Linked DNA regions of Homo sapiens: regions 1, 2, 3 and 4 are each linked to region 5. Evidence: promoter capture Hi-C in 16 types of primary human blood cells and fetal thymus (Javierre and others, 2016). All regions are on one chromosome and are shown on one strand. Each heading gives the region's core, a stretch centred on a gene start or on the middle of the fragment in contact. The rest is flanking DNA. Distances are from core to core; before and after follow the strand shown. Region 1 overlaps GRID2 (glutamate ionotropic receptor delta type subunit 2). Region 2 overlaps BMPR1B (bone morphogenetic protein receptor type 1B). Region 3 overlaps BMPR1B (bone morphogenetic protein receptor type 1B). Region 4 overlaps BMPR1B (bone morphogenetic protein receptor type 1B). Region 5 holds the start of PDLIM5 (PDZ and LIM domain 5).

Region 1 (5,622 bases), core at 2,625-5,124, 700 kb before region 5:
ACTCTCCTCAAAATGCCCTATGGATCTTTTTTCTTTTCTTTAATTTAGGCTCCCCAAAAAAATAATGTGTGCCAAATGATCCATTCTACTTCTTGCCAGGTCTGGCATGATATGAAGCCTGACAGGGACAATAAGGGGACAAAGCAAGGAGGAGTACTGAATTACTTTTCTTGCTTTTTTTTTTTATGTTAAGGAACAAGCCCAAAGAAAAACATAGATCATTGTGACAAATGCATTGTATCTTTATAATTCATTGTAGTTGGCAAGAACTCCTACCAAGTAATAAATGTTAAGCAAACCAGAGCCACCATTGCATAGGTAGGGGTATTCTTCCACTACAGTCACATCATTTGGCCTCAGCTCAAACTACTGACTTTGTCTTGATGATTTTCTTCATTGCATTAGTAAGTTAGCAAAAGTGGGTGGGGGTGGGGATCCCTGCTTTATTCCTCCTTCACTGTGTGTGAGCAAATGCATGCATGGGTGGCTGAGGTGCGGGAAAGAAGAAGAGAGAATATGCAGAGGTTAGGGGATTTTTAAAAACATGTAAGTTTTGTTTTATTTTGTTAGTTTAAATTTGCCCTTAGGTATTGTTCAAAATGTCCTCATTTCCTTTATGACACAAGGGCTTTTAGAGGAATGACTGAATTAAAAGACAGTTTATAAAAGTTGCAAGATATAGGGAAATGATTGTTTACAAAATAAGGCATTGATGAGGAAGGAGACAGAAGTGTTGCTGGGATGACTCTTCAAGGGGAAAGTGAAAGTTCAGTGACTGACAGGAAAACAATCATAGCTTCTGTGCTTCATAGAGCTGGCCTGCCACTCATTGCCCCTTTTTCACTCTTTGATTCAAACATATACAGGAGGGAGAAAGTGGCATTGAGCCTCCTCCAGCTGACAAAGGACCAGAGAGGCAAACCGAGGCTGTTAGTCTACCACCATGCTATTCATACCATGCCCTCTCCTGAAATGCTCATACACCCACTCTCTACATGTTATAAACATAAAGCCTTAGTCAAATAGCCACCTCCGCTATGACACTTTCTTTGACCACTTTTGCCAAAGTGGCGTCATCCCCCTCTACAGAGCTAAGTAATGATTCTTTAAGAAACCCTCACAATGCTTTTTGCTCTCCATCTCTTAGCCAAAAACAAAACAAAACAAAAAAGTCTTTGGTTGTTTAAGCTAACACAAATTACTTCACTCCCTTATGCCTGAGTTTCTAAATATAGAAAAATGGAGATAAAGTCAGTAACTACCTCACAGGGTGATTTCGAGAATTATATAACTGAATTGCTACAGAGTGAACAATGCAGGTGAAGAGATAGGTGCTCAATAAATGTGAGACATGTTAACTATCATGACTACTACTGCCATTGGTGAGCACACATTATATAGTTCCCTTTCTTGAGCTTTGCTTTTTATTCAGCAAATTGATCGAACGCATCCTCTGTGCAAACAACTGTAGTTGGTGCTACAGAACACACAAAATCTATAAGACACCATTACCTGGCCTAAGGAGCTTGTAATCCTTTCAAAGAGATAAAACACATTACTTTAGTGTTGGAACAAAGCACAAAATTATAAGAAAACTTCCAAGGAAAGTTCAAAAGATGGATCAATTAGTGGTTTCTCCAAACCTGCTTTAGTATCAGAATCCCCTTGGGAAAGTGCTGTTTAAAAATATAGATTCCCAGACACCAACCCAAAAATAGTAAATAAGAATCTCTGACTTGTAGCCAAGGAAATTCAAGTGATTCCAATGATCACCCAGTAGGAAATCCCTAGAATAGTCACGTACAATTGGAAATAAAAGGCTTTCTGTTAAAAGGTGGTCTTGGCCAGGCGCGGTGGCTCACGTCTGTAATCCCAGCACTTTGGGAGGCCAAGGTGAGTGGATCACAAGGTCAGGAGATCAAGACCATGTGAAACCCGGTCTCTACTAAAAATACAAAAAATTAGCAGGGCATGGTGGCAGGCCCCTGTAGTCTCAGCTACTCGGGAGGCTGAGGCAGGAGAATGGCGTGAACCCGGGAGGCAGAGCTTGCAGTGAGCTGGGATCGCGCCACTACACTCCAGACTGGGTGACAGCACAAGACTCCGTCTCAAAAAAAACAAAAAGGTGGTCTTGACCAGGCATCGAGACACATTTTATAAGAGTTAGGATAGAAGGAAGAAAGAGTGGTGTCACTTAAAAGAGATGAGTTAGTTCCTAGCCAGTGATCTTCTCAATAAGGATGAAATATTATCTTCTGCTAAGAATCAAACAGGTGAAAATACAGTTCAAGGTTTGGGAAATGTGGAGAAAGTTGGAAGAGTTGTAACATGTTTTACAGGGATAACTAGAGGTGAATTAAACTGAGGGTCCATTATGCTACAATATCTCTCACTGCAATTTCCAAGGCCAGTTTATACCTAGGCTAGGGTCATTCTTCTTAAATTCCCAGAAGCTTATATAAATGAAAATGCACTGACATTATCAATAAAAGTGAATTTTTAATATCACTGACAATAGGATCATTAACTATTGTGAATTCTTCATGTCTGTTAACAACCTTGTTTCTTTTGCCAAGTATAAAATTTCAAATTTGATCTCATGAAAAGTCTAGGAGTCAGATTCTCATAAATAACAACAGATCTATCCATTTGCTCTTTGTTGATCTGTAGCTGGCATCTGAATATATGAATTCCCCTAGGGTGAGAATGAGACTCTATAATTAAAGTTAATTGGTGTTGCTTTTCACCTGTTTTTCTTCTTGGTGAGTGAACTCTTTTATTCCTCTCATTTTTCCACATCAAATTCTCAGTATTGCAATGGGTCTCCCACAGTTCCAGGCAGTTTCTGGTTCTTGGGGGGAAATGCTCCTGTGGCATTATTGATTGCAGCCTTCATGAGAAGGACAATGATTTACTGTGTTGCTTCCTGTGCAGCTGTGAATTTGCTGTACAGTGACAGGGCCTTCCGTGGCATCCTCTGTCTCAACTTGACAGGAGATCTGGAGAGTGAGCTAGCTGTATTGAAATGAAAGTGTCCTCACCCCAAATCACATTCTGTCCCTCAAACTAAACCCAGGTCAGTGAGAGGTTAGCGAAAACACGGTTAAGAATGTGCTAAAGGGTGATACTGAAATTGAGGCTGTCCCCACTGTCTTCTCAAGGCCTGTAACCCGGCTTGCCCTCCTAAAAGCTTCATGCTGTCATTCCTTGCCGCCTCCTTATTTTCCTAGGCTTTCCACAACTGCCTGCTTTCTTACCCATACTCCCAATACTGCATGCTATGATTTTGGGGAGGACACATTCAGGCCATTGCACACCTGAACATTCTTTTTTTTTTTTTGGCTAGAGTATCAGAATGGGCACTTGACCTTAGGCAGCACTGTGTTTGGACTTATACATTGTTCATGTCAATGTTTGGTTCTAAAAGGAAAAACTGAAAACCTATTGCAAATGGACTCCACTGTATTACTGTGGCTGTACCACATTAGTCTTTATAATGATTATAACAATAGCTGCCTGGTATGGAGAACTTAATATATACCACATAATGTGGTGAACACTTTGCATATACAATACAATTTAAGATAAATATTCCATTCCAGGGATTAGGAAAACTGAAGCTCAGAGGGATCATGTTATCTTGCCAGTACATAGTCAGGAAGTAATGATAACAGAATTTCACCCACGTTTTCCTAACTAATACTCATACTGTTCTTTTATTTATTTATTTATTTATTTATTTTGAGACACAGTCTTGCTCTGTCATCCAGGCTGGAGTGCCCTGGTGCAATCTTGGCTCACTGCAAGCTCCGCCTCCCGGGTTCACACCCTTCTCCTGCCTCAGCCTCCTGAGTAGCTGGGACTACAGGCACCTGCCACCACGCCCGGCTAATATTTTGTACGTTTAGTAGAGACAGGGTTTCACTGTGTTAGCCAGGATGGTCGCGATCTCCTGACCTCATCATCTGCCCACCTCGGCCTCCCAAAGTGCTGGGATTACAGGCATGAGCCACCGCGCCTGGCCAATACTCATACTCTTAACTATTACATTCTCCTTTTCCAAAAATCTCAGTCCTTTAATTATTTTCCCTGCTTAAAATTTCCTAAACCTTATCCACACCTCATTATCATTCTTTGACTTCTCTTTGGTCATAAATTATTTATTATGTGTATCCTTCCATCTATCTGTGTACTTGCACATTGTTTTGCAGGTAAAATCCATATTGTCCATTTATTTTGTGCTCACTCAACACCTGGTATATCAGTGTTATGCTTTTGGAGTCTTTGGAACCGTTAGTTTTCTATATGGATCATACCCTGACTTATCATAAGTGGAAGTGATAAGAATGGCCTGGGGGTAGGACAAGAAGGGAGAGAAAATAAATAGTTATCACTGATTCTCAGAGGGATGCCGAGACTAAACTGACCCTACCATCAGATTGTTAGATATGATCTTCTTGAATGCTGTTTGCTACACCTCCTATCTACATGCCTACAGGCAGCCTTCACCCAGAGCTAAAAGAAAGTGGAATCCAAATGTTTAAAAAATATTTATTTAGAAGCTTAAGAACTCTACCCAAAGTTCTCAGGCTAGGATTAGTAACATTAGGTTGTAATGTCCACTCTTCTCTTTCTTCCATACTCTGAGATGTTCTCCCCAGTACCAGCTTATCTTGTTATGCATCTTAGAAAAATTCTTTTTATTATTATTATTATACTTTAAGTTCTAGGGCACATGTGCCCAACGTGCAGGTTTGTTACTTATTTATACATGTGCCATGTTGGTGTGCTGCACCCATTAACTCGTCATTTGTATTAGGTATATCTTCTAGTGCTATCCCTCCCTCCTCCCCCTACCCCATGACAGGCCCCAGTGTGTGATGTTCCCCACCCTGTGTCCAAGTGTTTTCATTGTTCAGTTCCCACCTATGAGTGAGAACATGCGGTGTTTGGTTTTCTGTCCTTGCGATAGTTTGCTCAGAATGACGGTTTCCAGCTTCATCCATGTCCCTACAAAGGACATGAACTTATCCTTTTTATGGCTGCATAGTATTCCATGGTGTACATGTGCCACATTTTCTTAATCCAGTCTATCATTGATGGACATTTGGGTTGGTTCCAAGTCTTTGCTATCGTGAATAGTGCCAATATATGAAAGTCCCTGGGGAATCTTGAGAGCCCTTTGGGCCAGCATCAAGACTCACTGAGCTGTAATTTAGTGCTTAATGCCATAAGGAATTTGGAATCAATTTTTATACAGTCATGGATCACTTAGTGATGGGGATACATTCTGAGAAATGCATTGTTAGGTGATTTCATTGTTTTATGAACATCGCAGAGTGTACTTACACAAATCTAGACGGTATAGCCTATGAAACCCAGGTTATATGGTATAGGTGTATTTCTTCTAGTCTACAAACCTGCACTGAAGACTGTGGGTAATAGTAGCACAATGGTAAGTATTTATGTATGTAAACATATTTAAACATAAAAAGATAAAGTAAAAAGATGGTGTTATAATCTTATGGGACCACTCTTATATATATGGTCTGTCAGTGACCAAAATGTCATTATGAGGTACATGACTGTAATTTTCTGTAATGTGTGTTGCAGCTCAGGCAC
Region 2 (5,116 bases), core at 2,445-4,944, 700 kb after region 5:
TTAGATTTGAGTAATTCATAATTTTAAGTGGTGAGCTCTGCCTTCGTCTGTTGTAGTAGATACACCTACCCCACCCCATCCATCAGTCCATCCACCAGCGGAAAATAGGAGATGGGTTAAAGAGATGTGGGCTTTGCCTTCAGGCTGTTTCCAGGGCCATGGTCCTGAGAATGAGAAAGGGAGAAAGAACTGAAATGAAGCAGAGCACATCCTGCGTGTTAGGCCCTGTGCTTTTCTTATCTCATATGGAGGTAAAACACAGTGAAAGGAAATATTAACATAGATAATACATATAATTAGCTCTGTGGTCACAGCAGGGCACAGGACAAATGGTGAGTTGGAATGGTCTGAAAAAACTTCTGAACCTTCTGGTCCTTGATGATTTTATAACAGATTTGAGTTTACAAGAAAGAACATAACACAGACCCCAGATTTTGGCAGAGTAAGCCCCCAGTGAATTTAACGATGTGATATATAATCTGCCAACTTGACGGCATCATCTTTTTCAGATGAAAAGCAATGATATTTCTATAAAAGATGATTTAGGATAGGGAGGAGGGGTGCTCCCAAAAGATTGTTCAGAGCAGCAGCCTCTAATGTAATTATTATAAGGAGTTAATCTTAAGAAGGTGAAAAAGAAGATACTAGAAGCCTGCATTTTTAAAGGAGAAGAGGAAGAAGGTAGAAATTAAATACTAGGAACAATAAAATGAAAGTTTAGTGTGCATTTTTATGAAGATGCTATAGATTTATATTTCTTTTCTTTTAACAATACATATTTTTTCTAATAGTAATGTATTCCTTACTGAAAATTTGGATAAATATAGGAAAAAAATCAGATAATCCTTGAACCTAAAAAATTCATGGTTAATATTTTTGGGTGTCTGTAATTTTCTAAATTTTTAATGTGCAAAACCACATTCCTACAATTAAGCAGAAAAAATGTAAATCTGACATTTTGTTCAAGTAGGATACACTTCTGAATTTATTATGATATTCATAGTTTCATACTATAGTAATAGAAACAGTCACATGTAGTATGAGTTCAGGATATGTCTTGCAGATTTGCATTGAGATTTAATATAGATTTGTCTTTTAATTTGTTCTTCATAAAAATGGAAATAAATTTAAGATGCTTGTTTTACTTAGCTTTTGGAAATTAGGAAAGAAAGGCTTGAAGACCTATGACAATATTTTTCATTGGGCTTTGTATTCATTTTTTCTAAATTAGATTAAGTACCATTTGGGTAAATATTTTTCAAGATTTATTTTGCTATTTTTCTGCCTGAACTTGTCTGTAATACTGATAGCACTTTTCCTTTGAGAACTGTGTTAGACTTTTATTTCTACTTCACAGAAAATAATAATAATAATAATAATAGTAACAACATATTTTTAGGTATAGTGGAAGAATACCAGCTTCCTTATCATGACCTAGTGCCCAGTGACCCCTCTTATGAGGACATGAGGGAGATTGTGTGCATCAAGAAGTTACGCCCCTCATTCCCAAACCGGTGGAGCAGTGATGAGGTAAGGCTTGAGGTAACCATGTGGCTGTGACAGACTTCTAAATAGACTTTTCTTTTTTAGCTAAAATTCCACATATTGATTGTAGGAATTCTTCTTTTTTTGATGGTGATGGTGATGGCGCCTCATTGCAGTAATTTATATGAAGATAAGTGTAGTATGTTAAATTACTTGTTCTACTTTTCCAATTTTATTTTGCCACTTCCAGAATATATTGAGTGAGTTGGTCAGTGTTTAGCCTGCATAACAAATAACATTATTTTCTTTATTTATAATGTCTTGACATTTGCATAAAACCTATTATTTCTCTGTGTGTGTTTTTAAAGCATCATAATTTTTCTCTGTGACAAACCCATGTACAGCATTCTCCCATTTTGATTAGAGAAAAAAAGTAGGCATGTTAAAGTGATACAGGTTGACCTAGTTAAGATGCCTGACTGTGCTGGGTGTCTTTGTTAATAAGGATGACGAGATGTGATTTGAACAAATCCACCTTCAGCTTGGCTCTAAGGCTGTAGTGGTGAAACCTACATAGGTCTGGAAAGCAGCGGCTAGTAAGGAAGAAATGAGTCTTGCCTTTCCTGACTCCTCCTCCTGTTCCACATTCCTCTCCTTCCACCCTCGCAGCCTTCAAACTCACCATGTTCTAGAGTTCTCTGGCAGACTGGAATGTTCAAGATGAGTTTGAAGCACCACTGGAAAAAAAAACAGGCTCTTATCAAACGTACCAAAGCACTGCAAAGGGGGGACAGAGCACTATTTCTGAAGTGTAAAAGCCATTTAAATATAATCTCTGGGCCGGGCACTGTGGCTCACATCTGTAATCCCGGCACTTTGGCAGGCCGAGGCGGGTGGATCACTTGAGTCCAGAAGTTCGAGACCAGCCTGGCCAATATAGTGAAAACCCATCTCTATTAAAAAATACAAACAATAGCCTAGTGTGTTGGTGCACACCTGTATTCCCACCTACTCGGGAGATTGATGCACGAGAATTGCTTGAACCCGGAAGGCGGAGGTTGCAATGAGCCAGGATCATGACACTGCACTCGACAGACCGAGACCCTGTCTTAAAACAAATAAACAAACAACAACAAAAACAAAAACACCTTTGGCTCATTGGTTTTGTGTCTGGTTACTAAAATGCTAAATAATATATACGTTTTCCAGCAAGCTGTGCAGAAAGCTTTATGAGATGCTGGAGCTCTGTTATTGTGGGCTTTTGGTGTTACTTGATATCTCTTCACTGAGGATTTCTTATGAAGTGAAATTGTACTTTTCAATAGGAAGACCAATAATTGATGTACCACAGGAGAAAGTTTTAGTGATGCTGTGCACAGGTCATTAATCTTGTTAAATGGTGCAGTGTGATGCTATTACTGCAGCAGACAGCTATGATTTAGGAATAACTGTGTTTGTTTGCATAGTATGGAATTAGATAAAAGATTAAAACTTATCAAGTGTTATAAACAATCTGGGAGTATTGAGTGGAATACAGACTCCCTGGGTATTTTTATGTTTGCTTAACACTAATTTCAAAGACACCTTTCTACAATCAGCAGAACCACCTGCTTGTTTCTATCACAAAGAAGACATGAACATCTGTTTTAGTCATATATAATTTTGCATGAAAAAAGCTTACAGAATTTTACTTCTACATGGTTTTAAGGGTACCTTTTAAAAATATATTCAAACTTAATGAACCTAAAACTAAAAAGCTACATTGTAACAGGTGCCAGCCTTGCAGATGATACATTTTTCTAACATTTCTCTTCCTCAGTGTCTAAGGCAGATGGGAAAACTCATGACAGAATGCTGGGCTCACAATCCTGCATCAAGGCTGACAGCCCTGCGGGTTAAGAAAACACTTGCCAAAATGTCAGAGTCCCAGGACATTAAACTCTGATAGGAGAGGAAAAGTAAGCATCTCTGCAGAAAGCCAACAGGTACTCTTCTGTTTGTGGGCAGAGCAAAAGACATCAAATAAGCATCCACAGTACAAGCCTTGAACATCGTCCTGCTTCCCAGTGGGTTCAGACCTCACCTCTCAGGGAGCGACCTGGGCAAAGACAGAGAAGCTCCCAGAAGGAGAGATTGATCCATGTCTGTTTGTAGGACGGAGAAACCGCTTGGGTAACTTGTTCAAGATATGATGCATGTTGCTTTCTAAGAAAGCCCTGTATTTTGTGATTGCCTTTTTTTTTTTTTAAGATGCTTTCATTTTGCCAAAATAAAACAGATAATGTGGATGGTTTAAGGGTTATAGTATTATAGTTTAAATAATAACAACAAAATTCTTCCCAGGAACTCTGCTGGAAGGTAAATTAAAATACTTGTTTTTCCATTGGTAAAATATTGTTGCACTCTGTGAACCAAAAGACAGTCTAAGTTGGAGGACATAGAACGGAACTCATCTTAAACATACTCCCCACCCCGTCTTGGCCTCCTCAGACCACTTTGGCCATCCCTGCATTTGGGGCCGCTATGGTAATGTGAATGCACTGGGTACAAACACCGCCTGTCTAGGACCACATTTGGAATTCCTGCAGGTGGCCTTTTGCAGCTTCAGGCAATATGGAACAAATGAAGGTTTATGTGACTCTAATAGAAGTAATTGTTGATAGGTGTTCTTCAGATCCACTTCTGTTTCTGATTGAGTTAGGCATCTCTTTCATGGTAAAACCCTTTTCATTAAACACAAAGAAAGCTTTTTTTTTTTTTTTTTTTTTTTTTTTTTTTTAATGTGCAGAGGATTGACCTGTGCATGCTTTTGATCTCTCATTCAAAGGATCAATATTAAATAAAATTGTCATGAGCTGTGTTGAAGACAGGGTGCTTTCAAATAGAGGTAATTTGCTCTTGTGTTGTAAGAGGAACATGTCAACAAAGATAGGAAATGAGGGTGATCGTGCAGATGGCTTGTATCTTATATATGCAAAGGAGCCAATCTCAGAAGCACAAAGAAAAAAGTGTGCATACCTTATTTTGTACAGATAAAGATGATGTCTTTTTGTTATTGTCTGTCTGTTTTGTATGTGTCTGAGATAAGGGATAGAGAGGAAACATCCGTCAGGCTAATTTAACTACATTTTATTTTAAAAATAGAGAAACATAACCTCTAGATGGGACAGCAGAGGACAGTTAGTAGAGGCCACAAACTGTTATGGGCTGCTGTGTTTTGTTCTAAAATCAATATGGTTGGAGCATGTATATCTTAGGTGATCATTTCACATCTTAGGAATGCCTACTCATTTTATTTTATTCTAGTGATGCTCAATTCACTATTTAATTTATTATATTTTCTCTTCTGTGGCACTTATACAAAATATCTCTTCACCTACTTAGTTCTACAGGGTTTTAACTTTGGAGCAACATGAATAAAATCATCGAGAAGGCCAATATTGTTTAGCAACATGAATACAATACAGTTTAAAGTTGTACACATCCTGCTCAACTTTATTCATATACATTTCCTTTCTGTGGTTTTCTTTTGCTTCTTAGAAATTCTGTTAGTGGTTAGTAAAGAATTTGAAAGTACTTTCTCCTTGCTGTTTTTTTTTTTTTTTAAGACATTCCTCCCAGAATACTCCAG
Region 3 (4,949 bases), core at 2,355-4,854, 660 kb after region 5:
TGATATCATAAAATTAGGATGACCATATTTTCCGGTAATTTTTGAATTTTGATTTAGATGAGAAATGTAAGTTATACATGTAGTCTAAATATGAAGGAAAAGAATAAAAAAGTCACAGGTGTTACTTGTTCATATTGTTTAAAGTAAATTTCTAAGGAACAGATATTTTAATTATTCCCTTCGGTGTTTACATGTTTTACATTTTTATAGCAATTTCAGTAAATTGGTTAAAAAGGCCTGAAGAGTTCAAGGCATGGGCTGTTCAGAGACAGTCTTTCTTCCACAACAATATTCATGCTTTTTGACCTTGGTGTAAGAGAGGGATTTATCATTGGCCCTTTTTAGCCATTCATTAGTATGTTTGAATTTTGTTGTGCTGGCTCTTATAAAGTGAAGTATTTTGGACCACTTGAGGCTTATAAACCAAGTAAACAATTCTGAGGGTGTTGATAATAACTGAAGGGCTAACATATAGCAGCATGCTGCTACCACTAAGACAGAATAGACAAACCCACAAATCATGGCTAGTATCGTTCTCAGAGCTTTATTCCCATGACCTTTCAAGATTACATTGCCATATCTGTCTTGGACGCTGAGCATGCATATATATGAGAAAAGGATAGAGATATAGTTTAGTACTTTATTTCTTAAGACATTCAGTGCTGGTTTATGACTTATATTGAGAGTCTGCTGGCATTCATCACCCAAAGTTGTGAAGATATCAATGTCTGTTTACAAACAGTTCTGTATATAACAGATGTGTTTTTTATTTTAGTCCCAAAGGGCATAGCAGAAAACACATGGTGAAGTGAGAGGCCCTTGATTCAAGGCCCAGTTCCATAACTGTTTGTTCTTTGATCTTGTACAAGTTTGCTACACTTTTATAATTTTAATTTCCTCATCTGTAAGATAGGAATAATAATACTTTCTTTTTCTTATTGTTGAGAGGATTAAATGATGTAGAATAAGTGAAAGTTATTTTTAATCTGGAAAACCATACAGAATTTAAAATTTTATTTCCTCTCCACTGTCTTATCAAGAACCCTTCTTTCTGTTGCCCATCTTTACCCCACCCCCAAATGAAGCCTATACTTCTTACAACAAAGCTTAATTTCTTTATATGACAGGACAGCCCAGAAGCAGAGGTACTAAATGTCAGAATCTCAGTTATGCCATGCTGATCCCAAATCCTACCTGTCTTTAGTTTTTGTGCTTTAATAAGAAATAAGTGTATTTCACTATCTCAGAGCAAGAACAGTATAAACAGTCACCTGCCTGGATTCACACCCTTGCACTCCTTCTCACTAACTGTAAGACTTTTGAAAGTTACTCAAGCCCCCTGAGCCTCAGTTTCCTCATATAGAAAGCAACAGTAGTGCTACCTTCCTCACAGAGTTTGTCTGGATTTGTCTGGAAAAGTAGTATCTGTGAAGGGCCAAAATAAGTGTTCAGTAATTGGTATCTATGGTTTTTCATGGTAATTAATGATGTATATTATATGGAAATGTTAGATCCTTCTTTTTCACAAGTTTCTGGACAAAGGAGATATTACAAAATGTTTTTATGTTTATTAAATCCATTTTCATAAAAGGAAGTTTTTGGATTCTCTTAACAGATCATTGACATTCTCCTTGTTGCAATAAAACAAATGATACACATCACTTATTTCCTTTTCCCCTAGACACACACACACACACACACACACTGACTCACACACACACATTCTGTTTCTCACTTTGCTTGTTTGATCTTCAGCACAGACGGATATTGTTTCACGATGATAGAAGAGGATGACTCTGGGTTGCCTGTGGTCACTTCTGGTTGCCTAGGACTAGAAGGCTCAGATTTTCAGTGTCGGGTAAGGTAGATAACTTGATTCTGTAACCTTTCATTGGCTAGATTTCCAACAAGTTTCAAGCAAGATAAAACCATTCTTTTTCTTGGCCAGCCCATTTTTAGTATAGTCATGAGCTGCACAAAAACATTTAGGTCAGCAACAGATGGTATGTATGATGACAGTGGATGGTGGTCCCATAATATTATAGCACCATATTTTGACTGTACCTTTTCTATGGTTAGATACACAAATGGATACTATTGTGCCTTAATTGCCTACAGTATTAAGTTCAGTGACATGCTGTATGGATTTTTACCCTAGGAACAATAGGCTTTATCTTTTGGCCTATGTGTGTAGTAGGCTATACCATCTAGGTTTGTGCAAGTGTACTCTGTGATCTTCTCACAATGACAGAATCACCTCATAACACATTTCTCACAACATATCCCTGTCTTTAAGTGACACATGATTGTAATTTAGAAAACTGAAATTTTCCATTGGACCAATTCTTCCTTCATTTTGAAATCAAATATTATTTTTATTTTTGCTGTTAACGTCTTGTTTAGTGTCGCATTAGAGCATCTTCCTCAAAATCCAATTTAGCTTGTTGCATTAATCCAAGCCTTCTTCCTCAGTTTATACAATGCACACTAGTTATTAGAAATGTAGTAGTAATTTTGTTGAAATGCAAAAGTTGCAATAAGATAATACATGGTAGCTTGAAATAAATTACCTTATAGAGGAGAACATATTTAAGGTGTTTGAGTGAAATTGTTAGAATTTTAAATTAGTTCTCTAAATAGTGACTATTTTTAAAGTTTTAGATGATTTGACTTTGAAATTTGGAAGAAACTCACTAATAGCTGTTTGGGTTCGATTATAGGACACTCCCATTCCTCATCAAAGAAGATCAATTGAATGCTGCACAGAAAGGAACGAATGTAATAAAGACCTACACCCTACACTGCCTCCATTGAAAAACAGAGGTAAGTGAGGAAGGCTTCCAGCCTGGAAAATCACTAGGTATCATGAAAATAAAAACTAAAAACTAGAATCGTTCTCTCTCAATCTACCTGTACCACTTTCCACTGCTGGAGCAGAGCACTGAGGCCAGATGACATGGAACCATCATTCGAAGACATGTGCAAGTAGTTTGTGGGAAAACAGTCATATGTGACTTCACTTTTATGATTTTTATTTTTTCCCACTTCTGTTCAGAAAATTGCTATTCCTAGAGTTTGTAGTGTATTTCAGGGTGGAGGCAGGAGCTAGCACTCTGCTTCTCCCTGAAAGTTATTCAGAAGTTGTAGTTCACCCAAAAACTACCATTTGTCTATATTTATTTTAAAAGTAAAGACCATATAAAGGGCTAAATTAAACATTATTTGCTATATGGCATTTCCTTTTTTTATGCTAGAGTAACACCTTTTAGTCAAATCGTATCAATATATTGATAAAATGGGGAAGGTATCTAAAAGTTTTAATTTCAAAACTTACCCATTTAAGTGTTGTTCCTTTAAAATGACAAATATTGCCTCCCAAGATATTGCCTCCCAAGAGACCTTTTGTTTGCAACAGGTCTCATGTTCCCTTTCTCCTCCTCCATGCTTTCAGCGCGCGCACACACACACACACACACACACACACACACACACACACACACGGTTTTTTGTTGTTGCAGAGTTTTAAGTCCTAAATCTTATCTAAGTGATTTAAAGTGATTTTTCATGATTGATTTTATTTCTTGAGAAGAGAAAAATCTTTCCAACAAAACATAATGGAATTTCATGACTTTGTTTTGCTTTCTCTCTCTCTCTCTCTTTTTTTTTTTTGAGACAGGGTCTTGCTCTGTTGCCCAGGCTGGAGTGCATGGTGTCATCATAGTTCATTGCAACCTCCACCTCCTGGGCTCAGGCAGTCCTCCCACCTCAGCCTCCCCAGTAGCTGGGAAACAGGTGCACACCACCACACCCAGCTAGAATTTTGTGACAAATGTTTTAACATTTGTTCCTGTTCTAGCCTAGAAAGCTATACAAGATTGATTAATAATGATTCACATCAAAGCCTCACCAGCATTTTTTTTTAATTGTGGCAGGCAACATGCTAGGTATTAGGAATACAGAAATTAATGAAGAAAATTATTCCTCCCAAGAAGTATACATTAGAATGTAAGAGAGCACCGTGTCAATAACTATATTTGTTCAGAAATATCTCATTAGTAGAGTTAGATTATAAAGTGTATTAAGGACATAATAGAGTGAGTGGCTGGCTCTACCTGGGGGAGGAGGTTGTCAGAATAGCTTCCTAGAAGTGATACTTGAACAAGACTTTAAGGATGAAGAGGAGTGTGCTAAGTGGATAAGGCAGGATAGGCTAAGTATATAGAAAGTTTAAAATTTAAATGGCTAACTTTAGCCACATAATCTGCTAAAAAGTACATTAATTAATCCATTTTAGCCTCACAGCAGCCCTGTGAAGTACATAGAATTGTTCTTCCAACTTTAAAGATAAGGAAAACACAGCACCGGAAAGTTTATTAACTTTGAGTTTGCATAGCCTATGAGTAGCAGTGACTCTAAACAGATGCAGTAGTTAAGTGCAGAGGTCTGGTTTGTAATATTGGAGAGCCATTTGCTAACTACAGGAGTATGAAACAGCATGACTGGTTGGAGAAAAATCCCATAATTAAGAGAGATGAGGGCTGGGCACAGTGGCTCACACCTGTAATCTCAGCAGTTTGGAAGACCAAAGTGGGAAGATCGCCTGGGCCCAGAAGTTCAAGACCAGCCTGGGCAACATAGCAAGGCTCCATCTCTAAAAAAAAAAAAATTTTAATGATCTGGGCATGGTGGTATACATCTGTAGTTGCAGCTACTAGGGAGGCTAAGGTGGGAGGATCACTTGAGCCCGGAAGTTCGACATTACATTGCGCTACAGTCCTGCCACTGCACTGCAGCCTGGGTGGCAGAATGAGACACTCTTTCTAAAAAAATCTTTTTAAATAAATAAGAAAAGAGAGATGGGGCCAGATTTCAGTCCAGTTAGGAGTGTGAAGGTGAGAGAGCATTATCTGAGGAGGATGTAGGAATTTAGAAAAATAGTAGAATAAAAC
Region 4 (5,431 bases), core at 112-2,611, 640 kb after region 5:
TGTTTTGTTTTGTTTTGTTTTTGACTCCTAGGTTTCTTTTCTTTTTTACCTTTCCACTGTCATATGCCATGGGTCCTGAACATAGCTCATTGCTTGACCGGAATAATGTCTCTTGCCAGCTTATAATCAAAGGGACTACTGAGAAAAACAGCTGAGCTGTATTAGGCAACCACAGTCTGGGCTGCATTTCTTAACTGCTGAATAACATATCACAGGTGCAGGATTAGTGCTGCCTACGGTGCTGGGCTTTTTAGTGGAAACCCCTAGCAATTCTGTGCCTCCTCCTCATGTCTCTCATCCTAGGGAGCCTGGCAACCATATATCAAGCGTACAGAAATCAAAAGTGAGTAGTGGGAGAAGCTTTATATCTCACAGAGACTGTTTTTTTTTTCCCTCCAAAAAATGTAAGCAAGATGAGTAAAGCCAATTCTGGCACAATAAAAGCTGTTAGAACTTAGCCTTTTTTGGCATAGATGGTGAAATAGACTAATTCAAGGGGATCAAAAATTTTGTCTAAAAAAATTACATGGCAAGAAAATACCATGTAGCCGAACTCTTCTGGTAGTGTATAATTTAGCTTACTTTTAAATTAATGATGTTCTTATATGTATTATTTTAACTTTTGTGTTATGTGTGAGTGCGTGTTTGCCCCTACACATTTTCAACACTGTCAAGGTTAAAATCAAGTGTTGTGGTTGTATAAAGGTCTTGTGGTTAAATTTTTTATAGTTTTTGATGTTGTGAATTCTTTTACTATTAATGTATCAACTATACACTTCTAAATTCATAGGTTATAAAGGTCTAGGTTTCTTTCTTGCAAGTATGAGTTTTAAAAAATGCAAAATGATTCTTTAAAGTATAAATGTAATGATTTAGATGTTAGATCAAATGAATGTTTCAAAAATATAGTTGCTAAGATATTTATTTTTTACCAGGAAGGATATAAATTGTTTTGGCATGATAAAGTGTACATTTGGAGAAGTGAGGGCAAGTATATTTTAGTAATTCATATCATTTTTGGTAGCTATCTTAGAAAATTTTTCTGTGACGCACAACAGATAAGTGTAAAAGCACATGGGTGGCACTGCAGATTTTAAACAGTTTTCTTTGGTTTACAGTTTGTTCTCTTAAAACTATGATGGCTTTCTAATGTTTACATTGCATTCTTATTCATTTTATTCCTGGTGATCATTATTCCATATTGTTTCACCAGAGATAGACCTTTAAACTCATTGGTGATGATAATAGTTGATAATAGTGTTTAGCTTGAAATATATATACTATATTTTATACCTCAAATATTTAAATATTTGAACTAGCAATATATTTGAATATTTTAAAGTCAGTAATAGCTAAGGTTACCTTTAACAGTTTTCCTATTAGAGGGTATGGTAAGGATTAGGAGCAGAGAGGTTCTAAATGTTTTCCAGGTTTTTTCTTTGGGGAAAAAGAATAGCACAAACACGGTGATTTGGTTTCTGGTTTGTCTGACTTCATTGTCACTTCCCTTTACATATATGCATCTATAAAATAGTTTTATACACTAGGCTGTCTTGGGAGTGCTTTGCAAAGCTGCAGAGTAATTTTTGGTGTGGAGGCAAGTTGAACATCTACTTTGATTAGCTTCGGAACTCTGTGAAGCAGAGCATTCATAGAAACTGCTGAATAAAACCATAGCTCCTGGCTTGGAAATCTGCCAAGTTCTAGTTGACTCTGACATTATTGTCAAAGAGACCACGGTTCAGTTTCTTTTCTAACAATGTGGAGCTGAATTGACACATTAAATATTTTAAAATACAAAGTCATTTTTAATTTTTAATCATTCTATCGGCTGAGATTATGCTATTTTGTGACAGTGGCTTCAGTTTGATGTTGCATATTTTTAAATCATGGTTACTTGCTTGTCAAGTTAATTTTGTTCTTATATTGTTGCTTTTATTAAAAATACTTATAAACAAGTTGTGTTTTAGAGATTTTTCAAAGGTTTTTAATTTATATAAACATTTTGATTGAGTTTCTCTAAATTCAAAAGCAGAGTAAAACCTAAGGGAAAGGCTAGCTATTGTTTTAAATTTAAAGAGTGTAATTATGATGTCCAAAGAATTTTTATTACTATCATAATTACTATTCCTGCTGAGGTTTATAATTCTATGTCTGCTGAGGTTTATAATTCTATGTCAATTACCTGGAAAACAAATGAATATAAATGTTTGTGTTGTCTGTTGACTTGTATGTCATATTTACTCTTCTTATGATTTTTTTATGTCATAGTCTGGTGTTGTCTGTTGACTTGTATGTCATATTTACTCTTCTTATGTTTTTTTATGTCATAGTCTGGTATCACATAAAATGTTTGAGTGATTGAAGCTTTTATAGGTCTCTTGGCAGGGTTTTTCTGATGTGAAAATGTTGAAAACATGATTATCCATCATAACCCGGGTGATGTGTAATGTCGATGTGTGAGTATGGTGAAAAGAGAAACAATGTCAGTGAATAGAAACACTCACAAATATTTTATGAAGCCCTGGTTTCTAGAAAGAGCCAGCAGTTATATTTAAAATTAGTGTGTCTCTTAACCTACTCATTAGTGTTGACCATGAGTGGCTGAAATTAAAAACTGGCAATATCCCTGGTTTTGGTGGTTATGGTTTCCATAAAAGATACTGGTTGATTACTGCCACACACAAAGTAATCTTCCCTCTTATGCACTCCTGTCTAGGACTTAATTTGGCAATTATGTGGCATTGTGACATCTCTTTTATTGTTTTCCTATATGTATTTCGGCTTTCCATATGTAGTTGATTTGTCTCACAGTGTTCCACGTGTAGCTGATTTGTCTTACAAGCAAGATTGTTATTTTATTGAGGACACCGTCAAGTACTCTGGGTCATTGTGTTATGTAAATGGATTTAATGATTATTTGCTAAATGAATCAATGTACCAAGAGATGAAAGAAAATAAGAATATTTTAGTCATCCTTGAACAAACTTTCAGTATGTTTCTTAAGCTGAAAACCTTATATTTTTATAGACTCTTTGCTCACCGTGATTAATCTAGAAAGGAAGGAAAAGTAAAAGGCAGTAAAATGAAGCAAAAGAAAGAGGAATTGAGGAAGAGGAGAGCCAGGAAGGGGAAAAGATAATAGGGGAGAAAAGGAAAGGAAGACAAATAGAAACGGGAGATAAAGGAGTAGGGAAAAGGAAGAGAAAACTGAATAATAGTAAGAGTCAGCAGCACATAAAACAACAATTTATTATTATTGACAATTACTATGTGCAAAGAACCATAGTTGATGCTTTATGTGGATTTCTCCTCCACCCCACTGCAACCAGTGAGTACTGCTACTCTCCACGTCTTCTATAAGGAAGTTAGTTAAGTCACTTGCTAAGCCATTTAAGTAGCTGAGCTCGAGTTTGAACCCATTTGTCTATTTTACCCTACATCGTCATCAAGTCTAGCTCCACTGCTCAGTGACCATACCTGATATTGCTTTGTCATCTGACATTTCACTCCTGCATAGCATGTCCAGAAATTTAGCACCAACATCTTCCCTTATCTTTTATCTGATTTCTGTCTGTTGAAGGAGAAAGATTCCTGTGTAGGTAACATCACAGTTAATATTAGAAAATCTGTTCTTTCCCTACATATGATTTTGCTCTGGTATTTTTTAATAAAAATTGTATTTATATTTTGTTACTTTCCAGAAAAGTTTAGGCATATGTCCCAACTTTTTATTAATTATTTAGTGTATATATATATAATTTTTTTTTCCTAAATTTTTTGCTGCAAAGAGCATAGAAAATGATTTATTTGAAAGTACTTTAGTATAAGGAAAAATGGTTAGGTGATGAAAATGAAACTCAGGCCTTTAGAGTTGAAAAATTTAGACAGTGAATTGAGTTAAATGATTCAAGGTTTAAGTGTTGAAAATAAAAATTAGCGATTAAACTATCTGATGTCACAAAGTTATTTTAAAAATTAATATTGTTTTAAAGCTCTAATCAGAGTTTTATTCCTGTGTGAAATAGACTCTTAAAAAAACTGTGAGTATTTAAACTAGTTTTGGTTAAGAAAGAAAATGGGCATTGATTTGCATTATTTGTTATCATAACGGTACAAATAGCTGTAGGATGGGTCATTCCCAAAGTTGTTGCTAGCCAGTTCAGTACTTTAAAATTTTTCTTCCACTAACCTCTTTACCCTGGACATTTAAAGTGCAAACTTGTGTAATATGAATTTCAATTTCTCTTCTTGCCCCTGCCTGCCCTCTGGTGTAGAAGGTGAAGAACAGTGATGAGAATCAACATTTGGTTAAGTTTTGTGATATTCAAAGAGTTTAAAAATGAAAAAGATAAAGGAAGATAGATTATTAGTAGACCTTGTATGACACAAAATGATTATATGTCACTTTTTAATGAATTTTAAAGTCTCATATCCATTTCTAAGTGCATTACATATTGAATTTAATATTACTTGAATTTTCTCTACTGTTCATACAGATTTTTCTCTCTGCATTTAAATGTGGCAGTGGATTTTGATACCCTTTTGACTATGACATAAAACAGTCCTTTATATCACAAATTAAAAATTTTTTATTTATGATATTTTTGAACTCATAAGAATATTACTAAAACTAAATACAGTTAAAACACACTTTAGGATGTAATGGATTAATTTTGAAGATAAAATTTAATTTTTGTAACATTGTACTCTTGATATGTAATAGTATGAAATTTTTTTTACATTTTACTTTTGTTCTGCATTTTGTTTTTTCTGCAAAAATCACGTATATGAGTATATAATAATATAAAATAATATAGAAATATTTTTAAAATAAGGAACTGATTAAGTTATATACATTAAAGAAGTTATTTTACAGTGTTTATATGAGGCTTCCAGCTCATTATTGTCCACTGTTTTCAATTAAATACTTTAAAGAAATTATAACTCTACCTTATTTCCTACTACAAGAGATTCCATAGAAAACATGTACATAGCTAAAAACATGTATATAACTGCAATATATTTTCCAGAAAAGATATTCAGGATATTCAAGAAAAATAACTTCCTTTTTAGTCCTTGTAATTGAATGGAAGTCACAATATTGCATTCTGATAGTTAGGTAATTTCATGAAATTTGATTGATTTGCCTGAAAAATCTGTAAATCTATTTCTAAAGAAATATTCTTAATATTCTATTTTTGTATTATTCCTTATAAGAATCATAAGGAATATAATTTAGTCGTGATTCAGTAACACACAAACATCCTGTGAAAATAATTCTATTGTTTATTTGCACGCCAAAAATCCAACGATCCTCTGAAAAATGAGAACCAATTTTAGAGTGGCTTCCAAAAGCCTTACTTTTTATTATCATGATAATTTAGTTAGTAAACTAAACTATATATATAACTATATAATTATATAGAGG
Region 5 (5,208 bases), core at 1,634-4,133:
CCAGAGGGGATCCAGGAAAATGCAATTTTAACAAGCTATCCGTGTCATTTTGATGCAATCGGTCCTTTTTAGGACACTTGGATAAATATCAGTCTATGCAAGACAACTTAATTTGGTTAATTTACTCTGTAGCCCAGGATTTAAACTGCAGTAGTAGGAGGAGGTTCAGAGACAGGCTAGCAATTATGGGGTAAAGTGGAATTTGCATAAGTAAGCAACAGTCTGCCCATTCTCAACTCTTCCTCATCACCTCAAGAAGCTTATCCTCTAGTGATAACTCCATAGGCTATCTGCAGTTGATGTCTTTAAATTAATCTTTGTTGATCCAGGATCAATTTAACTGTATCAACAGCAAACAGATGAGAAGGGGCAGAGTTGGGACTCCTAGAGGTTAACTCGAGCCATGGCCCTGTGGAACTGGCAGAAGCTGTAATTGCTTGCGACCTATTATCTATAAATGAGGATGACATTCATTTTATAAAGTTCTTGTAAGGACTACCACACTGCATAGCACATGGTAGGTATTTGCTAATGGTAGCTATTGTTATTTTTTTTTTATTTTTGGGTGAGATGTCAAACATGATAACATATATTAGACTCTCTAAACCAGCTTTCACACTAGGAAACACTTTCCCCCAAAGCCATCTTTTGAAAAATGTGGTGAAAGCTATGGACTGGTGCTGTCCAATGAAAATATAATGTGAAGCACATATGTAATTTTATTTATTTATTTTTTTAGAAACAGGGTCTTCCTTTGTCACCCAGGCTGGAGTGCAAAGACAAGATCATAGTTCACTGCAGCCTCGAACTTCTGGGCTCAGCAATACAAATAGCTGGGACCTGGGACTACAGGCACACTACACGACGCCCAGCTAATTTTTTGGATTTTTTTAGAGATGGGTCTTGCTATGTTGCCTAGGTTAACCTCAAACTCCTGCCCTCAAGCCATCTTCTCACCTCAGCCTCCCAAGTGCTAGGATTATAGGTGTCAGCCACTGCACCCTGCTCACGTAAGTAATTTTAAATTATCTAGTGGCCACATTTTTTTTAAAAAGTGAAATTAATTTTAATCAAATATTATTATTATTACTCTTTTTTTTTTGGTGCGGAGTCTTGCTCTGTCGCCCAGGCTGGAGGGCAGTGGCATGGTCTCGGCTCACTGCAACCTCTACCTCCCGGGTTCAAGTGATTCTCCTGCCTCAGCCTCCCAAGTAGCTGGGATAACAGGCATGCGCCACCACACCCGGCTAATTTTTGTATTTTTAGTAGAGACGGGGTTTCGCCATGTTGGCCAGGCTGATCTTGAACTACTGACCTCAGGTGACCCACCCGCTTCAGCCTCCCAAAGTGCTGGGATTATAGGCGTGAGCCGTCGCGCCCGGCCATAATCATGTATCATTTAACAAAACATAAAATATGATGATTTCAGCATATAATCAATATAAAAATTATTGAGGCATTTTACATTATTTTTTCATACCAAGTCGTCGAAATCCAGTGTGCATTTTACACTTCCAACGCATTTCAATTTGGGCATTATATTTTCAACTTTAGTCCTTAAATGTAGTGCTTAAAAGAAATGTTAACGACCTGGCGCGGTGGCTCATGCCCGTAATCCCAGCACTTTGCGGGGCCGAGGCGGGTTGGTCACCTGAGGTCAGGAGTTCGAGATCAGGCTGGCCAACATGGTGAAACCCCATCTCTACTAAAAATACAAAAAATTAGCCGGGCGTGGTGGCGCACGCCTGTAATCCCAGCTACTCAGGAGGCTGAGGCAGGGGAATCGCTTGAACCCGGGAGGTGGAGGTTGCAGTGAGCCGAGATTGCACCACTGATCCCAGCCTGGGAGACAGAGCAAGAATCCGTCTCAAAGAAAAAAAAAGTAAAGAAATGTTATCCTGCTTCAGTTTTAAATGTTAAATTATTTAAAATTACGTAAAACAAAAAATTCATGGTCTCAGTTACAGTAGCCACATTTCAACTGTTCGATAGCCACATGTGGCCAGTGGCTACCGTTAGGGAAAGAGCAGCTTTGGATCTTCGCCTTTGGAATTTTGCTTGCACTTCTGGGGGCCGGGGAGCTCACGGACCTCATGAAGTTCATCCTTGCTTTATATGCTCCTTGGTTAAGAATTGTCCTTTTCACGTTTTATAAGCCAATTCACAGTGTAACAGTCTAGTTACTTTCCGTATGTTCAGTGAACATTATTCACGTTTTCTTATGAATAAATTCCTCGGGCGTATCAAGCAACCCTATAGAAGGCTGGAAAGTGGACTATTGATTTGGATTTAGAAAAATAAACTGAAGATACAGTGGTTGAATCACTTTTGGCCGCTTTTATGTATCACTGTCTTCTGGTGTGATGGACAGGGTTAACTTCTGTTAGGGTTACTGGTTTTCACCTTCCTGACAGGTAAACTTCTGGGTCTGCACTTTTCAGAGCATGTAAAGCTCTTTCAAAAAAAAAAACGCAGGCAGTAACCGCTGAACTTGCATAGATAGAGATTTATCCAAAGTACCCTTCTATTTTTAGGCAGAGCAACTGCTTGCCAATTTAAATTTCTGGAGAGAAAAATGCACCCACTACAAAACGGACGAGCGGAGGGTTAGACCTTTGCCAGGTAGCGCTCAAAATCCGCTAAGACTACTCCCACCGAAACTCGGTAGCGCAGTTGTCTTTCCGCAGCTGCTTCAGCCAGCCCCAGCAAGCCCGAGCGCCCGGCGCCGCCGCCACCTTCCCCGCCCCTGCGCGGCGCGGCTGGGACTGGCCCAGAGGCGTGGCCGGGAGCGGAGGGGCGTGTCCTGGGTCGGGGGTGGGGCGAGGGAGAGCCAGGAGGCGGAAGTTCCCGCGGGCGGTGGGGACGGCGCCCTCACCGCGAGTCACTTGTCAGCCCTTGTCTGAGGCGGAGGCAGCCCCGCGCCGCGCCGGACCCGAGGTGAGTGGCGGCCGGCCGGCGATGCGCCTCTCGGATCTCCGGTGGGAGAAGGGAAAGAACCGGCCGCTGTGCGCCGAACGCGAGAAGGGAAGCCCGGTTGGGGACGAGGAGGGGGCGCTCCTCGGGCAGGGATGGCTCCTCAGGTGCTTTCTGGGCGCGGAGCGGCGGAGGTGGGAGAGCAGCTTGGGAAAAGGAGCGCCCGGAAAAGGGCAGCGCTGGAGTCCGCATGAGGCCAGAGGGCGAGCCCTGGGGTCCCCGCAGCCCGGGCCGACCGGGACCAGCGTAGCGGAGACGGGGACGCGGGAGGGCGCCCGGAGGTGGCGAGGGCCGGCAGGGACGGGCACTGCCGCTCCCACCCACCCGGCTGCCGGCGTCGCCCGGCACCACCGTGGTGTGGTGTCTGAGTGCCCAGTCCTGCGCCAGTCTCTTGGAGGGTAGGAAGCGGGACTCAAAGGAAAAGGCGCGTTAGTTTTTCTTTGCTCCCAGGCTACTGAGAAGCATTTATTTCTCCCCCAGATATTTACAGTTTTGTGTAACCTGTTTGGGGAAAACTTCTGCGCGTCCAGAAATAAAGCTCGTTTAAGAAACACATTTGTCATGAACACGAGATTTGTTAACACTTGAGTACTTGTTGGGGCTTTTGTAAGACTGTGCCTTCGGTGCGTTTTACAATAAGTGGAAAAAGGAAGGGCGTGTGGACAGGGCAGAGCTTGGAAGGAAAATTCGTGGCGGCGCTGGGCAGGGCAGATTTAGGGTGTGATCGCCAGATCCTATCCCAAGTCCGCCTTCCTGACGGGGAGGACGTCTGAACCCGCCTGCCACGGAAACGGCCCGTTCGGTAGCCTTATTTGGCCAACAAGGCTAGGCGCGAATCCCTCCTGGAAAACTGTCCTGTCGGCTGCTTTCATCCTGTGCCTGTGGCTTTAGTTCTTCAGCTCTACCTACATTCTCTCTCCATTGCGGGGAAAGAGAATCTCAAGATATTTCTCTTTAATTTCAGGCCTTTTTTTTTGTCACTCTGTGTAGTTCATCTTGAGTTCTCCTTTCTCCCCTCTCACCCACTAATGAAGCTGAGATACAAGTGTGGGAAATACCAAGCTTCCTTCCCTAGTACTAGAGCAAAGACATTGTTTAGACTTTCCCTAAAAGAAAATCCATAACTCTACAGAAATTCCAACCTTTTCGACGTGTTTGAAAGAGTATGCTGCTATTTCCTGCCTGCTTGGTATTTGAGGAAGGGCTTGGGCACTAATAACCAGATGGAGGAGTCTTGGAAAGGCCAATAAAAATATTGCCATTGCTTGGGGCAGAGACTGTTTTAAGGCAGATGAATTCCAAATGAAGCTAGCAGAAGAAGCATCTAGAAATGAACGGACAGTGACTAGAAATGAAATGACACTGGTTTTGTAGTGTGGCTGTGACCTTGCCAGTGCTAGGAATTTTAATAACAAATGAGAGAAGTTAGGAAGGGAATCCCCAAGTAAAGGGAAGTTGCAAGTACATGGGTTGATAATCTAAATGAAATACATTTTCTTGTAGGGAAGAATGGGGCCAGAGGAAGTTGAGCCCAACTTTCATATTATTCCCCAGACACAAGTTAAAGATTAATAAAGGAGGGCAGGCTGCCTGTGAAATATCAGTTGGCTTTACACGATTCTGATTTGTATCGTGTCAATATCAGGACAGTCCTTCTATTAGTTTTCTGAAAATCTCCTCCTTTTATAGCGGGAAAGCAATTGAATTATGTGTGGCTCGTTATTAGCTTCCCACTAGTAGTTTTTCACCTATATATACAGTTTGACTTCCGGCTTGGCCTTTGGATCTTTTTTAGTGCTCTGTGCCTATTACTTCATTACTGAAGTAATGTGTTATTGCCTTGTAGTTCAGTATACTACCACGCCAGTAGAAAAGCTGTTTCGGTTTCTGATACAATTTTCTGTAATTTTTATTTTCCCTGATATAATTTTTCTTTAAAAACCAGGCTTATTTGAATGTTTTGCCCCATTTTCCCTTTATGAGAAGAAGGAATGTTTGCTTTAAATATACCTATGGCTCAAATATCTATATCTGCAACTATGAATTTGGGGTGATGGGCTAGAAATTTTGAATGGGTTAAAACATATTTTAAGACAGGTAATATTAGGTGGTGATTTGGTTGAATAGCTTACATTTTCCAAGGAAGTATGTTTTTAATATAAAATTACATATCTGTTATGTTTTTAATATTTTTTAAAGAGAGAGAATTATTGTTTCTTAGTATTCCATTAAAAC

Evidence for each region. Contacts are between HindIII fragments. The CHiCAGO score rates a contact against its expected background, and 5 or more counts as called.
Region 1: a contact is called between a fragment that was not itself captured here and the fragment with the promoter of PDLIM5 in region 5, in 2 of 17 cell types (M2 macrophages and M1 macrophages). The highest score is 5.9, in M2 macrophages.
Region 2: a fragment that was not itself captured here is called in contact with the fragment with the promoter of PDLIM5 in region 5 in 1 of 17 cell types (fetal thymus); the score reaches 6.6 in fetal thymus.
Region 3: a fragment that was not itself captured here is called in contact with the fragment with the promoter of PDLIM5 in region 5 in 1 of 17 cell types (fetal thymus); the score reaches 6.1 in fetal thymus.
Region 4: a fragment that was not itself captured here is called in contact with the fragment with the promoter of PDLIM5 in region 5 in 1 of 17 cell types (fetal thymus); the score reaches 11.7 in fetal thymus.

What each region holds. Positions count from the first base shown.
Region 1 is chr4:93,748,646-93,754,267 of GRCh38, forward strand. The region is part of intron 14 of GRID2 (glutamate ionotropic receptor delta type subunit 2); the gene reads left to right. Among named protein-coding and RNA genes, the nearest start is that of ATOH1, 77 kb to the right of the region's middle. RefSeq lists enhancers at 1-44, 529-608. The HindIII fragment of the contact is 1,372 bases long and covers 3,189-4,560 here.
Region 2 is chr4:95,151,244-95,156,359 of GRCh38, forward strand. It overlaps BMPR1B (bone morphogenetic protein receptor type 1B), which reads left to right. Exons shown (of 13, transcript NM_001203.3): 12 at 1,400-1,530; 13 at 3,305-5,116. The coding sequence ends at 3,430. Among named protein-coding and RNA genes, the nearest start is that of UNC5C, 400 kb to the right of the region's middle. The HindIII fragment of the contact is 1,070 bases long and covers 3,160-4,229 here.
Region 3 is chr4:95,112,965-95,117,913 of GRCh38, forward strand. It overlaps BMPR1B (bone morphogenetic protein receptor type 1B), which reads left to right. Exons shown (of 13, transcript NM_001203.3): 5 at 1,756-1,858; 6 at 2,721-2,823. Among named protein-coding and RNA genes, the nearest start is that of BMPR1B, 360 kb to the left of the region's middle. The HindIII fragment of the contact is 5,000 bases long and covers 1,105-4,949 here.
Region 4 is chr4:95,091,285-95,096,715 of GRCh38, forward strand. All of the region lies in intron 3 of BMPR1B (bone morphogenetic protein receptor type 1B), which reads left to right. Among named protein-coding and RNA genes, the nearest start is that of BMPR1B, 340 kb to the left of the region's middle. The HindIII fragment of the contact is 2,007 bases long and covers 359-2,365 here.
Region 5 is chr4:94,449,059-94,454,266 of GRCh38, forward strand. It overlaps PDLIM5 (PDZ and LIM domain 5), which reads left to right and starts at 2,884. Exons shown (of 13, transcript NM_006457.5): 1 at 2,884-2,937. RefSeq lists silencers at 2,534-2,953, 3,124-3,383. The HindIII fragment of the contact is 3,776 bases long and covers 258-4,033 here.